Regions from separate parts of the Homo sapiens genome. Here region 1 is linked to region 2. The links are contacts of gene promoters, found by promoter capture Hi-C in blood cells and fetal thymus (Javierre and others, 2016). All regions are on one chromosome and are shown on one strand. The core of a region is centred on a gene start or on the middle of the fragment in contact, and the rest is flanking DNA. Distances in the headings are between cores, read along the strand shown. Region 1 holds the start of LASP1NB (LASP1 neighbor). Region 2 holds the start of RPL23 (ribosomal protein L23).

Evidence for each region. The method cuts DNA at HindIII sites, captures the fragments that hold promoters and counts their contacts. A CHiCAGO score of 5 or more calls a contact.
Region 1: a contact is called between a fragment that was not itself captured here and the fragment with the promoter of RPL23 in region 2, in 4 of 17 cell types (activated CD4 T cells, total CD4 T cells, total CD8 T cells and 1 more). The highest score is 6.1, in activated CD4 T cells.

Annotation. Positions count from the first base shown.
Region 1 is chr17:38,924,887-38,932,059 of GRCh38, forward strand. LASP1NB (LASP1 neighbor) reads left to right here and starts at 728. Exons shown (of 2, transcript NM_001414697.1): 1 at 728-1,005; 2 at 1,531-4,495. The coding sequence starts at 808. The coding sequence ends at 885. RefSeq lists enhancers at 4,807-5,352, 5,353-5,899. The HindIII fragment of the contact is 828 bases long and covers 3,214-4,041 here.
Region 2 is chr17:38,850,993-38,858,579 of GRCh38, forward strand. RPL23 (ribosomal protein L23) reads right to left here and starts at 2,729. Exons shown (of 5, transcript NM_000978.4): 1 at 2,706-2,729; 2 at 2,030-2,113; 3 at 1,612-1,740. The coding sequence starts at 2,718. It overlaps SNORA21 (small nucleolar RNA, H/ACA box 21), which reads right to left and starts at 2,003; the gene lies at 1,871-2,003. SNORA21B (small nucleolar RNA, H/ACA box 21B) reads right to left here and starts at 666; the gene lies at 532-666. It also overlaps the pseudogene RPS20P35. RefSeq lists enhancers at 1,582-2,365, 1,676-2,875, 2,366-3,149, 2,873-2,982. The HindIII fragment of the contact is 31,460 bases long and covers 1-7,587 here.

The DNA of each region.
Region 1 (7,173 bases), core at 2,378-4,877, 75 kb after region 2:
GTTTCACCATCTTGGCCAGGCTGGTCTTGAACTCCTGACCTTGTGATCCACCTGCCTCGGCCTCCCAAAGTGCTGGGATTATAGGCATGAGCCACTGCGCCCGGCTGGTCTCTGACACATCTAAGCTATGAACCATTAGGGTAAGTTTCTGACCATCTCTGAGCCCCATCTATGAAAGACTCATAGGGAGGTTGAAATTGCACCACATGTACGATATCTGGCCCAGTGTAGGAAATGTATAAATGTTAGCTTCATCCCTCAGGGAAGCCCACTGAGATCCACACGAAACTTTTGTCTGTGTCTCCCCATAATGTGACCTTTAGAAGTTGCCAATGGCCCACCCAATACCCAACCATGATTTTTCTGAGATAATCTGCCCGAGGTGTGTGAGAGGAAACGCGAAGAAGGCAGTCAGGAGGATTCACTCTTGGGGGAGCTGGGTAGGATCCTATCTCCTCCTACATCCAGAGCATGCAGGCTCCATTTAGATACAAAGGGGTGGGATTGGGTTCCTGGGGAGAAATTGAGCCCCTTTGATTCTGCGGTTCTGTGGGTCTAAATCTGGCATCTCCTTGGCTATCCACCCCCAGGCTTTGTGATTGGTTGGCTGTGGTTGGTGGGGGGGCAGGAAGCTGCTGGTGGAGCTGCAGCATCCTTCAGTCTCAGGCCCCTGGGAGGGGGAGGGGAAAGAACCAGGGCTGAGCTGTGGAGTGAAGGGGAGCCATTTCTCTCCACCGACTGCAACCTCCGTGCTCACAGCTCACGGTTCACCAGAATCCAGGGGCTTGGTCGGCCTAGGAATCCACAATGCTGGATATTTTCATCCTGATGTTCTTTGCCATCATAGGCCTGGTCATTCTGTCCTACATTATCTATCTGCTCTAGTGGCCTGGAGCTGCGGCCGGAGCCTGCTGGAGAACAGCTCAGAAGGAAGGATGGAGATGAATGGCCGAGTGCCCTGCTTGCTGACGCACCGGTGGATTTTTGCTTCTGCTGTTATCTCGGGTATTGATTCCAAAAAAAAAAGAAAAGAAAAAAAGAAAGAGTTTGCTTTCCTATTTTTTTTCTTAGACCACTCTGAAAAGAATAAGAAATGCCAGCTTCTTTCTTTGGGACCTAATTTAAAATAAGACTTTAAAAATTACAAATAAAATCCACAATGTAAACGATTTTTAGGCAGAACGGGTTGGGAATGATGGATGTGGTGGGGAGGGACTATTATTTCCTAATTTCTTCTTCAAGTTAGGTGCTCAAACTCAAGTTGTCTATTTTCTTCTGGTAATTAAAGGTAAAACACATCTTTGCATGTCAGCATACTTGCAATATAGTTGTTTACAACTATGCTTGTATAATTGCATTACTTAATGATTGACTCATTCTTATTTGAGGGTGAGACGGCAAATAAATTTTACTTGGGGTGGGGTTTTCGGGGAGATGTCCAACTGTGGGATATGGTGGAGAGGAGGGAGGAACTCCTGGTACTTTGCAGTTGTCCCCATCTGAGACTTTTTATTTCTGGGTTTCTTACAGCTCCTGGTCTCTCCAGTCCAACAAGAGGCCTCTCATCCACAGAAGCAGTCCTACTGCCCAGCAGACCTCTTTCAGAGCCTTCCAGACATGGCTGACCCCTGGCAAGCAAGGGGCTTTTTGAGCTGAGAGGCACTTGGCTGGGACTTCAGGAATTCATGGACAGGGCTGGCAGATACTGCATATGTTTGAGCTGTAGATGGGATTGAGAACAGAAAGTTGAAATGGAGACTTATTAAAGTTACCGTGGAGAACTGCTCAAAAATTCATTTTGAATTAAGGAAACTTAAATTCATTTTAAGTTTCCTTAGATCTAAATGCAACTGCACATTACACTCAAATATGTTCCTTCCTTCTCACACACAGGACTCCCTTGTGAAACTCAAGGGGAAGTTCAAGTTGTCCATCTTCATCTATGAAGTAGTCACTTTATCACTGTCTTTACAGATTGCACAGTCTGGGGTTTTGTGGTTTCTCTTGTCTCACTCTCCAGCCAGGAAGAACTTGTCATTTGAGTTTTTAAAATGTATCATTTCTTCCCCACCTCAAACCACTTGTATCCCAGTTTCTCATTTAAAGGGAGAAATGGTTATATAGTCCTCTCTTTGCACCTGATTGAATTATAAATGATAGAAACAAGATGGCTATACTTATTTAGGAAAAATCTCTTACCCCAAAATGAGTGTGTGTGTGTGTGTGTGTGTGCGTGTGTGTGTGTGTGTGTGTTTTAATCAAAGATCTTTTCTGGAAAAAACTTTCCACATAGTTCTCTGACCCATTAGAGTTGAAGAAACTATGTATTTTGGGATTCAGAGTAGAATTGGCCTGCAAATCTGGGGTGTTTATTCCTTTTACAAGTCTATCATAATTGTTCTACATTTAATTTTCCTTTCTTGCTTAAAAGTAAACAAGGAGAGTCAGGAGTGGTGGCTCATGCCTGTAATCCCAGCACTCTGGGAGGCCGAGGCGGATGGATCACCTGAGGTCAGGAGTTGGAGACCAGCCTGGCCAACACGGTGAAACCCCGTCTCTACTAAAAATACAAAAATTAGTCAGGCACAGTAGTGCGCGCCTGTAGTCCCAGCTACCCGGGAGGCTGAGGCCGAAGAATTGCTTGAACCCGGGAGGCAGAGGTTGTAGTGAGCCGACATCATGTCACTGCACTCCAGCCTGGGAGACATAGCGAGATTCCGTCTCAAATAAAATAAAATAAATAAATAAATAAACAAGGAGAAAGATTAGTTTTTAGTAATAACATTGTGTCCAATTTCCATGTTTTAAAACAAAAATTGAGGCATTATATGTCACAACTGAAATGGAAAAGTTGTGTTTAAAAATTATGGACAAGGCCGGGCACGGTGGCTCACGCCTGGAATCCCAGCACTTTGGGAGGCTCAGGCAGGAGGATCACTTGAGGTCGGGAGTTTGAGACCAGTCTGACCAACGTGGTGAAACCCTGTCTCTACTAAAAATACAAAAATTAGCTGGTGTGGTGGCAGGTGCCTGTAATCCCAGCTACTCAGGAGGCTGAGGCAGGAGAATCGCTTGAACCTGGGAGGCAGAGGTTGCAGTGAGCCGAGATCACACCTCTGCACTCCAGCCTAGGTGACACAGCAAGACCCCATCTCAAAAAAAAATAATAATAAAAACATAAAAATTATGGACAAGAAAAAACACTATTCTGGAAGCTTTGTTTTGGCAACAAATTATATGACCTGACCTTTCATAAGTCATTTAAACTTTAGGGCTAGGCCAGGTGCTATGGCGCATGCCTATAATCCCAGCATTTAGGGAAGTAGAAGCAGGAGGATAGCTTGAGGCCAAGAATTCCAGACCAGCCCAGGCAATATAGCGAGACCCCCGTCTCCACAAAAATAAAAAATAAAATAAAAATAAATAAATACATAAACTTTAGGTCCTCTGTTTATTCTGTCAAATGAAAGTGTTAGGCCAAGGTCGCATTATCTCTTTGGAAACTACATCGAGAACAGAATTCCCATGGAACGAACTCTTAATAGTTCACTGGTAGTCCCCCTTTTCTGAATATTCTTCCCAACATGACACTTTATAACAAAAATTTAACTGCAAAACTCTTTTTTTTTCACCAACAGCCAGATTTTGATGAGAAAATGGCCATATTTATTTACTCCAAATATATATTATGTCTGTGATAATTTGCCTAAACTGTTTAAGGAATATTAACAAGTATGATACTGCATCGTGGTATGTAGCAAAAAGATAGGTAATCTGACATACATGGATGCAAGCAGCATGGCTGTGAACCTGGATATATTTAGAAATGATCTTCAGTGGAGTCCTTGATGTGACATTTTCCACTAAAACATTCTTCTAACTCTGGTATATCTTAGTGTTTCGAACTATAATTTCCGTCTTCAAGCCAAGACAGCAGCTCTACATCCTTACCTAGGTAATTCAGGCATGCGCCAGTATTTTGGAGGGGTCCAAATTAGAGTTAGTTATGATGGTATAGATCTTTAAAGTATAGTCTAACCAAGCTTGCTCTGGTCTTTTGTGACATCAAGGCTTCTCAGTCTGTATTCACATAAAGTTGAAACAACTAATCAATTCAGTGAAAAAAAATCAGCAGATTTCACTCATACACTGGTGATATATACCACTGGTATTGGGTACAATGTAAGGAGAGAGGATTACCCATCTCTTCAGTTACTTGTAAAATATGATTTTAAAAAAATAAATCAATACATTTTGGAAAAATTATATGACTTTGTGCTTATATTTATGCAACAATATGCTAGCTTATAACAGGGTTTTACTGTGTTATTTTGATAGTTGTTTAAATTTTACATTTAAACTATTTGTATTTTGGCATCCCAAAACATAATAAAACACTGCAAAAAGTTACCTCTGTAATATAAGATTTTGTATAAATTTTATAAATTTGTGTCATAGGGTAATTTTGTCCAATAAAATGTCAATGAGATAAAAACCACTCTGAAGAATTATAAATTACTTAGAAAAAAATCAAGTGACAATGCTAAGAATCATTACACTAATACCTGCTTTCTTGATGAAAACAGGGGGTTTGTGGGGAAGAATGATGTATTTTATTTATTTTATTTTTTGGTTTTTGAGACAGAGTTTCGCTCTTGTCACCCAGGCTGGAGTGCAATGGCACAATCTTGGCTCACTGCAACCTCCGCCTCCTGGGTTCAAGCGATTCTCCTGCCTCAGCCTTCCGAGTGGCTGGGAGCACAGGTGTGCATCCCCATGCCTGGCTAATTTTTGTATTTTTTAAAGTAGAGACAGGTTTTCATCATGTTGGCCAGGTTGGTTTGGAACTCCTGACCTCAGGCTATCTGCCTGCCTCAGCCTCCCAAAGTGCTGGGATTACAGGTGTGAGCCACCGTGCCTGGCCAAAATATCATTTTGATTTTAAATTACTCAAAAATAATGGGACTTTTCCTTAGGCATCGAAGTACAACTGAAGTGGAAAATTGTCTTTGTAAATTACATGCTTTGGCTTTATCAAACTATAGATATTTTCAAAGCCTAGAGTGGCCTCTTCTTTTTTTTTTGTTTTCTTTTATTATTATTATTATTTTTTTTTTTATTTTTTATTTTTTATTTTTTATTGATCATTCTTGGGTGTTTCTCGCAGAGGGGGATTTGGCAGGGTCATAGGACAATAGTGGAGGGAAGGTCAGCAGATAAACAAGTGAACAAAGGTCTCTGGTTTTCCTAGGCAGAGGACCCTGCGGCCTTCCGCAGTGTTTGTGTCCCTGGGTACTTGAGATTAGGGAGTGGTGATGACTCTTAACGAGCATGCTGCCTTCAAGCATCTGTTTAACAAAGCACATCTTGCACCGCCCTTAATCCATTCAACCCTGAGTGGACACAGCACATGTTTCAGAGAGCACAGGGTTGGGGGTAAGGTCACAGATCAACAGGATCCCAAGGCAGAAGAATTTTTCTTAGTACAGAACAAAATGAAAAGTCTCCCATGTCTACCTCTTTCTAGACAGACACGGCAACCATACGATTTCTCAATCTTTTCCCCACCTTTCCCCCCTTTCTATTCCACAAAACCGCCACTGTCATCATGGCCCGTTCTCAATGAGCCGCTGGGCACACCTCCCAGACGGGGTGGTGGCCGGGCAGAGGGGCTCCTCACTTCCCAGCAGGGGCGGCCGGGCAGAGGCGCCCCTCACCTCCTGGACGGGGCGGCTGGCCGGGCAGGGGGTTGACCCCCCCTACCTCCCTCCCGGACAGGGCGGCTGGCCAGGCAGAGGGGCTCCTCACTTCCCAGTAGGGGCGGCCGGGCAGAGGCGCCCCTCACCTCCCGGACGGGGCGGCTGGCCGGGTGGGGGGCTGACCCCCCCACCTCCCTCCCGGACGGGGCGGCTGGCCGGGCGGGGGGGCTGACCCCCCCACCTCCCTCCCGGACGGGGTGGCTGCCGGGCGGAGACGCTCCTCACTTCCCAGACGGGGTGGCTGCTGGGCGGAAGGGCTCCTCACTTCTCTGACGGGGCGGCTGCCGGGCGGAGGGGCTCCTCACTTCTCAGACGGGGCGGTTGCCAGGCAGAGGGTCTCCTCACTTCTCAGACGGGGCGGCTGGGCAGAGACGCTCCTCACCTCCCAGACGGGGCCGTGGCCGGGCAGAGGCGCTCCTCACATCCCAGACGGGGCGGCGGGGCAGAGGCGCTCCCCACATCTCAGACGATGGGCGGCCGGGCAGAGACGCTCCTCACTTCCTAGATGGGATGGCGGCCGGGAAGAGGCGCTCCTCACTTCCTAGATGGGATGGCCGCCGGGCAGAGACGCTCCTCACTTTCCAGACTGGGCAGCCAGGCAGAGGGGCTCCTCACATCCCAGACGATGGGCGGTAGAGTGGCCTCTTCTAAGTCAGTTTTGTGCCCATCTATTTTAAACAAAAATAAAACCAAAGTCATATATTAACAGGGGAACAGAAAAAGCCATTGACACAACTTCCATTATAAAATCAAACACACCAAGGCAGATACATTAGAAATGTTTAAGAACATCTTTGTACTTAAAATTTAAACTGTGAGACTGCCAGGTGTGGTGGTGGCTCACGTCTGTAATCCCAGCACTTTGGAAGGCCGAAGCAGGTAGGTCACTTGAGGTCAGGAGTTGGAGACCAGACTGGCCAACATGGTGAAACCCCATCTCTACTGAAAATACAAAATTAGCCGGGCAAGGTGGCACATGCCTGTAATCCCAGCTACTCAGGAGGCTGAGGCAGGAGCATCACTTGAACCCGGAAGGTGGAGGTTGTAGTGGGCCGAGATTGCGCCACTGCACTCCAGCCTGGACGACAGAGAGAGATTCGGTCTTAACAAAACAAAACAAAACAAAACACAAAACACAGGCTGGGAGCAGTGGCTCATGCCTGTAATCCCAGCACTTTGGGAGGCTGAGCTGGGTGGATCACGAGGTCAGGAGTTCGAGACCAGCCTGGCCAACATGGTGAAACCCTGTCTACACTAAAAATACAGAAAAAAAAAAAAAAAAAAAAAAACCTGGGCATGGTGGCACGTGTCTGTAAATCCCAGCTGCTCAGGAGGCTGAGGCAGAAGAATTGCTCAAACCCAGGAGGCAGAGGTTGCAGTAAGCCGAGATTGCACCATTGCACTCCAGCCAGGC
Region 2 (7,587 bases), core at 1,479-3,978:
GTTTGAATTCCTGGGCCCAAGCACCAGGCTTTGTTTTACTTTTAATGAACTGTTTTCTAGTGTCCTAAGTAACTTTTATACCCATCTGTACTAAAGTGAAAAAGACGCTTTTCCCAACTTTCAAAATGAAGTATCACTACACAGTGAAATATAATGCTTGTGAAGAACTATTGTAGAGTCAGACACACCTGGATTCACAATCTTCACTGATACTAGCATGGGGTCCTTACACAGAATTTTTATGACAGGAAGACTACACAAAAAATAGATAAGTCTAACCAAGTTAGTAATGGGACACACATGAGGTAGCCAATACTTACTGACTGACCCTCCTCTACTCATAAACCATTTAATCCTCACAAATTCTTCAAGTAGACCTGGTCCTTTTGCATATTTCTGTGCTTGTTATTTATTGATATTAAGTTCCAAGGGGAGGGGATGTATTCATTTAGCAGAAACAAGGACCAAAAAAGACATTAACAGAATTGGAAACTCACAACTAGTTTTAAAACTGAAGTGTTCGGAGCTCTGGTCTGTCCCACCACTGACTGAGACCAACAATCCACCCTCCTGCCATCTCATCTACAAAGTGAAGGCCATTTGCTCTGCTCTTCTCTGACAGCTCCCTGGGCCACCAATCAGACCCAGGAAGTGTTCTGAGAAGAGGAAAAAGCCCATGCAATTGCTGAATCACAATCACAGTGCTACCCAGCCCTCAAATGGATATTAATGGTGAACAAAAAACAATTTCTAACCCAAAGGCTAAAAATCTACTGGACAGCATCGTGGGGTGGATACAGGAATAGGAGTAACTGTAATACAGGGCTGACAAATCAACATCACATTTGTAAATCAAGGGATGGCCAGGAACTCTTTAGAAGAGCAAGACATCCCAGGGTAGAGACAGATTAGGCAGGCACAGGAAAAAAGTGCAAGCGCTGAAGTTAAAATGCACCAAACACCAGAAGTTCTAAAGCCAGACAGGACACAAGCTGCAAGTATTTTGAGGCCTCCCCCTTTAAATCATACACCTGACAGGAAAAATTTTGAGTGGGGAGCCTGAGATTAAGTAATGAGCAATTAGCCGGGTGTGGTGGTGCACACCTATGATCCCAGCTACTCGGGAGGCTGAGGCAGGACAATCTCTTGAGCCCGGGAGGTGGAGGTTGCAGTGAACAGATATGTGCCACTGCACTCCAGCCTGGGCAACAAGTGAGACTCCATCTCAAAAACAAATAATAAAATAAGCAACGGGCAGCTTGTTTTCGTTTTGTAATATATTTTTTTTTGAGAGCCCAGGAGGCGGAGGTTGCAGTGAGCCAAGATCGTGCCATTGCACTCCAGTATGGGCTGGGCGACAGAGAGAGACTCCATCTCAAAAAACAAAACAAAACAAAACAAAAACAACAACAAAAAAACAACTAAGGTATGGAAGTGACAAGATGATGGTCCCCCCTCCAACACAATATGAGCAAAAACTTAAGATACTTATCTCACACTGCCTCTCAATGGAAAACAAACTTGAGGCCTTGAAAACTGATCCATTTTCCAATAAAGGAAAGCGTCCCCCCACTACTCATCAGTATTAAGGTGGGCTCAGTGTTTACTCACCCTTTTTTCTGAGCTCTGGTTTGCCTTTCTTGACTGTGGCCATCACCATGTCACCCACACCAGCAGCGGGAAGTCTGTTCAGCCGTCCCTTGATCCCCTTCACGGAGATGATATACAGGTTTTTGGCTCCTACAAAAGAATGTAAATAAAAATAAAAAATGTTGAGGGCCATCAGGCCGTTCCATCAGTATAACATTTCCCAAACACTTCCAAAGCCCCTCCCTCCACTCACTGCCCAAGCAGTTAGTCCGCAAGAACGCCTTGTCACACCACCGATTGAAGCAAACAACACATGTTGCCACTTCACCCAAAAGCGATGTTTTCACTCTCCCCTTTCTTGACGGCTCAATAGGTCATTAGCCACAGGCCCATTGAGTGCTTTTAAAAGGGGGAGTATAGCAACGTGCAAAGACCTCACCTGTGTTGTCAGCACAATTGATTACAGCTCCTACCGGAAGACCCAAGGAAATCCGGAATTTCGCACCAGAGGACCCACCACGTCCTGTGGATATAAAGGGAAGGGAAACAGGATAAAGAGATCACAATCTAGACATGGTTCGGAGTTCCCCCTCATACTCAAGCTGTAATTCACCGCACATGCTTTGATAGACTGTACGCTATAGATTAGCTCGCTCGGATTTTACTTATGCCGTCCCCATGTGCCACCCGATTCTCACGGAAAGTAGCCTATTTCTTACTATTAACACTCTGACATCGAAATTAAGAAACCTAGACGACTCAACCCTTGCTCTAACTTTCGCAAAACGCAATTACTCCTGCAAGGCATAAAACCGCAGAGGTCGCGCAAACCAGGGCCTAATCCAGTCTAACTTCAACCCCATTACGATAGCCCTATTCGCGGAGCGATCTCGCGGTATCCAGACTACATTCACGTCGGGATCCTGCCATCTCAACTCTCCAGCACCCCACTGCCACTTTCGAGGGCCCTGGCAGTGCTCTCGCGGTGGCCTGGCTCTCTCTCTCCGGCCTGAAGGAGAGCAAAGCGCCCCAGCTGCCTAGGGCCACCGCTCCTGACGAATCCGCCAGCCACTGCACGACAGATGGTGGAGGATCCTCCAGAAACAAAACCTCACCTCGCTTCGACATCTTGAACGCCGGAAAAAAGAAAAAAGGAAGTCGATTCAAAGGACACTGGGATATGAACTTTAACGCCCCGCCCACCCTCCTCACGTGGCCGGAGCAAAAACCGGCCTCTTCCGCCTCTGGGCGCTGCCTTATTACGTAATAAGTTTACGACGTCGCTTTTAGCCCTCTCTGCGAAGTGGGAGTTGAGGTAGAAGCGCAAGAGATAGGAAGTATCTTCTCTACGAGCTTAAGAGTAGTTAGGGACATGGAAACAGTGATTTGTTAACTTGCTCACGACCTCTTTTGACCACTTAATAGTGCCAGGCACTTATCTGCACACTAGAGAATAGGAATTAAAACACGGTTTGTGCCGTGTGGGGGTTCCCCAAGGAACAAAGAAAGTGGGGGAGGGAGGGAGAACAAGCTCTAAACGGTTTCGTTGAATGTAATACAGTTGAGAAGTGCTGCAGATCATTCCATCTATGTGTTCTTGGTATCATACCATTCTGTATTTTACATATACAGTATTGCTCTATTTATTGACCCGTCCCCCCCAACACACACTCTTTTTTTCTTTTTTTGAGACCGAGTCTCACTCTGTCGCCCAGGCTGGAGTATAGTGGCGAGATCTCAGCTCACTGCAACCTCCGTCTTCCGGGTTCAAGCAATTCTCTGTCTCAGCCTCAGAGTACCTGAGACCACAGGCGCCCGCCACAACGCTGGGCTAATTTTTGTATTTTTAGTAGAGACGGGGTTTCGCCATGTTATTGGCCAGGCTGGTCTCGAACTTCTGATCTCAAGTGATCTGCCCGCCTTGGTCCCTCAAAGTGCTGGGATTACAGGCGTGAGCCCCCGCGCCAGGCCTAATTGCTCCTTTCACAGCTTCAGCCGCCCCTTATTCTCTGGGTTCTTTCCTTCCCACGATACATTAATTCACATACTTATTGAGCTCCTACTTTACAGCAGGTTCTGTCCAGGGCGTACAGCGGATTACATCAGAGAACAAAATAGATCAACATTCTTTTCCTTATGGAGCTTACATTCTGCTGGGGTGCAGGTGGAGGAGGATATTAGACACTAAACAAAAGATATAATAAGTAATTGCAGTATGTAGTATGTTAGATGGGGATATGTATTATAAAAATATAAATAGTATCGCTTCTCGGCCTTTTGGCCAAGATCAAGTGTAAAATATAAATAGTGGCCGGGCCTTGTGGCTCACGCTTGTAATCCCAGCACTTTGGGAGGCCGAGGCGGGTGGATCACGAGGTCAGGAGATCGAGACTAGCCTGGCCAACACAGGGAAACTCCGTCTCTACTAAAAATACAAAAATTAGCTGGGCGTGGTGGCGGGCGCCTGTAATCCCAGCTACTCCGGAGGCTGAGGCAGGAGAATCGCTTGAACCCAGAAGGCAGAGGCGGCAGTGAGCCGAGATCGCGCTACTGCACTCCAGCCTGGGCGACAGAGCTAGACTCCGTCTCAAAAATGTATATAGATAAATAGCTCTTTGAGGAAGACGCGGTCGTAGGTGTTGCGGATCGCTGATCCGCACGCTCCTGCTACTGACTCACCGCTGTTCGCCCTCGCCGAGGAACCAGTCGCTCAGGAAGCCGCGCAGCAGCCATGGCTTTTAAGGATACCGGAAAAACACCCAGGGAGGCGGAGGTGGCAATTCACGAATTCGAGTCACTCTAACGAGCCGCATCGTAAAATCCCTGGAGAAGGTGTGTGCTGACTTGATCAGAGGAGCAAAGGAAAATAATCTCAAAGTGAAAGGACCAGTTCGAATGCCTGCCAAGACTTTGAGAATCACTTCAAGAAAAACTTTGTGGTGAAGGTTCTAAGACATGGGATCATTTCCAGATGAGAATCCACAAGTGACTCATTGACTTGCACAGTCCTTCTGAGATTGTTAAGCAGATTACTTCCATCAGTATTGAGCCAGGAGTTGAGGTGGAAGTCACCATTGCAGATGCTTAAGTCAACTATTTTAATAAATTGATTACCAGTTTTTTTTTCTTTTTCTTTTCTTTCTTTTCTTTCTTTCTTTCTTTTTTTTTTTTGAGACGGAGTTTCGCTCTTGTTGCCCAGGCTGGAGTGCAGTGGCGCGATCTTGGCTCACCGCAACCTCCACGGCCGATATCTATCTATCTATCTCTATCTATCTCTCTCTCTCTCTCTATCTCTATAGAGATATATATCTATAGAGATAGATAGAGATATATCTATCTCTATGTATTTATCTATATTAAAAACAACTGGTAATCGGCCGGGCGCGCTGGCTCACGCCTGTAATCCCAGCACTTTGGGAGGCCAAGGCGGGCAGATCACCTGAGGTCAGGAGTTCGAGACCAACCTGGCCAAAATGGTGAAACCTCGTTTCTACAACAATACAAACATTAGCCAGGCGCAGTGGTTCACGCCTGTAATCCCAGCGCCTTGGGAGGCCGAGGCGGTCGGATCACCTGAGGTCGGGAGTTTGAGACCAGCCTGACGACCAACTTGGAGAAACCCCATCTCTACTAAAAATACAAAATTAGCTGGGCGTGGTGGCACATGCCTGTAATCCCAGCTACTCAGGAGGCTGAGGCAGGAGAATCTCTTGAAACCCGGGAGGTGGAGGTTTCAGTGAGCTGAGATTGCACCATTGCACTCCAGCCTGGGCAACAAGAGCGTTTGAAACTCTGTCTCAAAAAAAAAAAAACAAAACAAAACAAAAATGGGGCCAGGTGTGGTGGCTCATGCCTGTAATTCCATCACTTTGGGAGGCCAAGGTGGGTGTATTACTTGAGGTCAGGAGTCAGAGACCAGCTTGCCCTAAATAGCAAAACTCTGTCTCTACTAAAAATACAAAAATTAGCAAGGCATGGTGGCTCATGCCGGTAATTCTAGCACTTTGGGAGGCCGAGGCTGGTAGACTGCCTCAGCTCAGGAGCTGAAGACCCAGCCCAAGCAACATGGCGAAACCCTGTCTCTACTAAAAATACAAAAAATTAGCCAGGCGTGGTGCGTGCCTGCAGTCCCCAGCTACTCGGGAGGCTGAGGCACGAGAATCACTGGAACCCAGGAGGTGGAGGTTGCAGTGAGCCGAGATCGCGCCAGTGCACTCTAGCCTGGGTGACAGAGCAAGATTCCGTCTCAAAAAAAAAAAAAAAAAGATATTGACATGAAACCAGGCACAGTGGCTCACATCTATAATCCCGAAACAATTTGGGAGGTTGAAGCAGGAGGATCCCTTGAGCCCAGGAGTCTGAGACCTGCCTGGGCAACATAGGGAGAGTCCATCTCTACAAAACATTTAAAAATTAGCTGGTGGCGGCTGGGTACAGTGGCTCATGCCTGTAATCCCAGCACTTTGGGAGGCTGAGGCAGGCAGATCATCTGAGGTCAGAAATTTGAGACCAGCCTGCCCGTCATGGTGAAACCCCATCTCTACTAAAAATACAAAAATCAGCTGGGCATGGTGGTGGGCAACCTGTAATCCCAAGTACCCAGGAATCTGAGACAGGAGAATTGTTTGAAGCCGGGAGGCGGAGGTTGCAGTGAGCCCAGATTGCGCCACTGCACTCCAGCCTGAGCAACAGAGCGAGACTCTGTCTTAAAATAAAATAAAATAAAATAAGCTGGTGGCATGGGAATCTGAGGCAGGAGAATCACTTAAACCCAGGAATTGGGGACTGCAGTGAGCCGTGATTGCACCACTGCACTCCAACCTGGGCTACAGAGAGAAACCCTTTGTCATTTTCCAATAAAAAGCCCTAAGGCAGGGGTGTGACTGAACCGAATGAGCACCAGCAAGGAAGCCAGATGTGACTGGACAGGACGAGTAAAGAGCAAAGTAGTAAGAAATGCAGTCAGAAGTAATGGAACGGTGGCTCACACCTGTAATCCCAGCACTTTAGGAGGCCAAGGCAGGTGATAACCTGAGGTCAGGAGTTCAAGACCAGCCTGGCCAACATGGTGAAACCCTGTCTCTACAAAAATACAAAAATTAACCATGCATGATGGCAGGTGCCTGTAATCCCAGCTACTTGGTGGGTTGAGGTGGGAGAATCATGTGAACCTGGGAGGCAGAGGTTGCAGTGAGCCGAGATCACACCATTGCACTCCAGCCTAGGTGACAGAGCGAGAGTTCTGTCTCAAAAAAAGGAAGTCATGGAATGAAACCACTGTGGACTTTGGCATTGGCTGAGTGAAATGAGGAAACATTCTTTGATTTTAAGCAGAGGAGGGACATGATTTGACTAATGTGTCAGAAGGATCACTGTGGTTGAGTTGTTGAGACTACACTGTGGGAGAGGACACAGGGATAGAAGTAAGAAGATCCATTAGGAAGCTATTGCAGTAACCCAGGAGAGAAATGATGGTGGTTTGGACTAGAATGGTAGTAGTGGATGTAATGTAGTCAGATTCTGGATGTGTTTTGGAGGTAGAGCCAATAAAATGTGGGGTATGAAAGATAGGAATCAAAATGTCTCCAAGTCTTTAGGCCTGAGCAATTGGAAGATATCATTGCCGTCAACCAAGATGGAGAAGGCTATGGTTATAGGAGGAATAGTGTTCCTGGTTGGTACTACCACCAGTGTCTCAACCAAAAAACAGGGACACAATTAATTCTCTTCTCCCAGGCTCCTAGAAGTAGTCACCAAGGTCTATCAACTTGACTCTGTTTCCTAAATTTTTCTGCCCATGCCTTCCACGTTCTGCCTTTGTTTCAAAGCTATTGCATCGGCCTCTATATGGTCAGACCATAATTTCCCACTGCTTAAAATCATGTGCTGGCCAGGCATGGTGGCTCACACCTGTAATCCCAGCACTTTGGGAGGCCGAGGCAGGCAGATCACCCGAGGCCAGGAGTTTGAGACCAGCCTGGCCAACATGGTGAAACC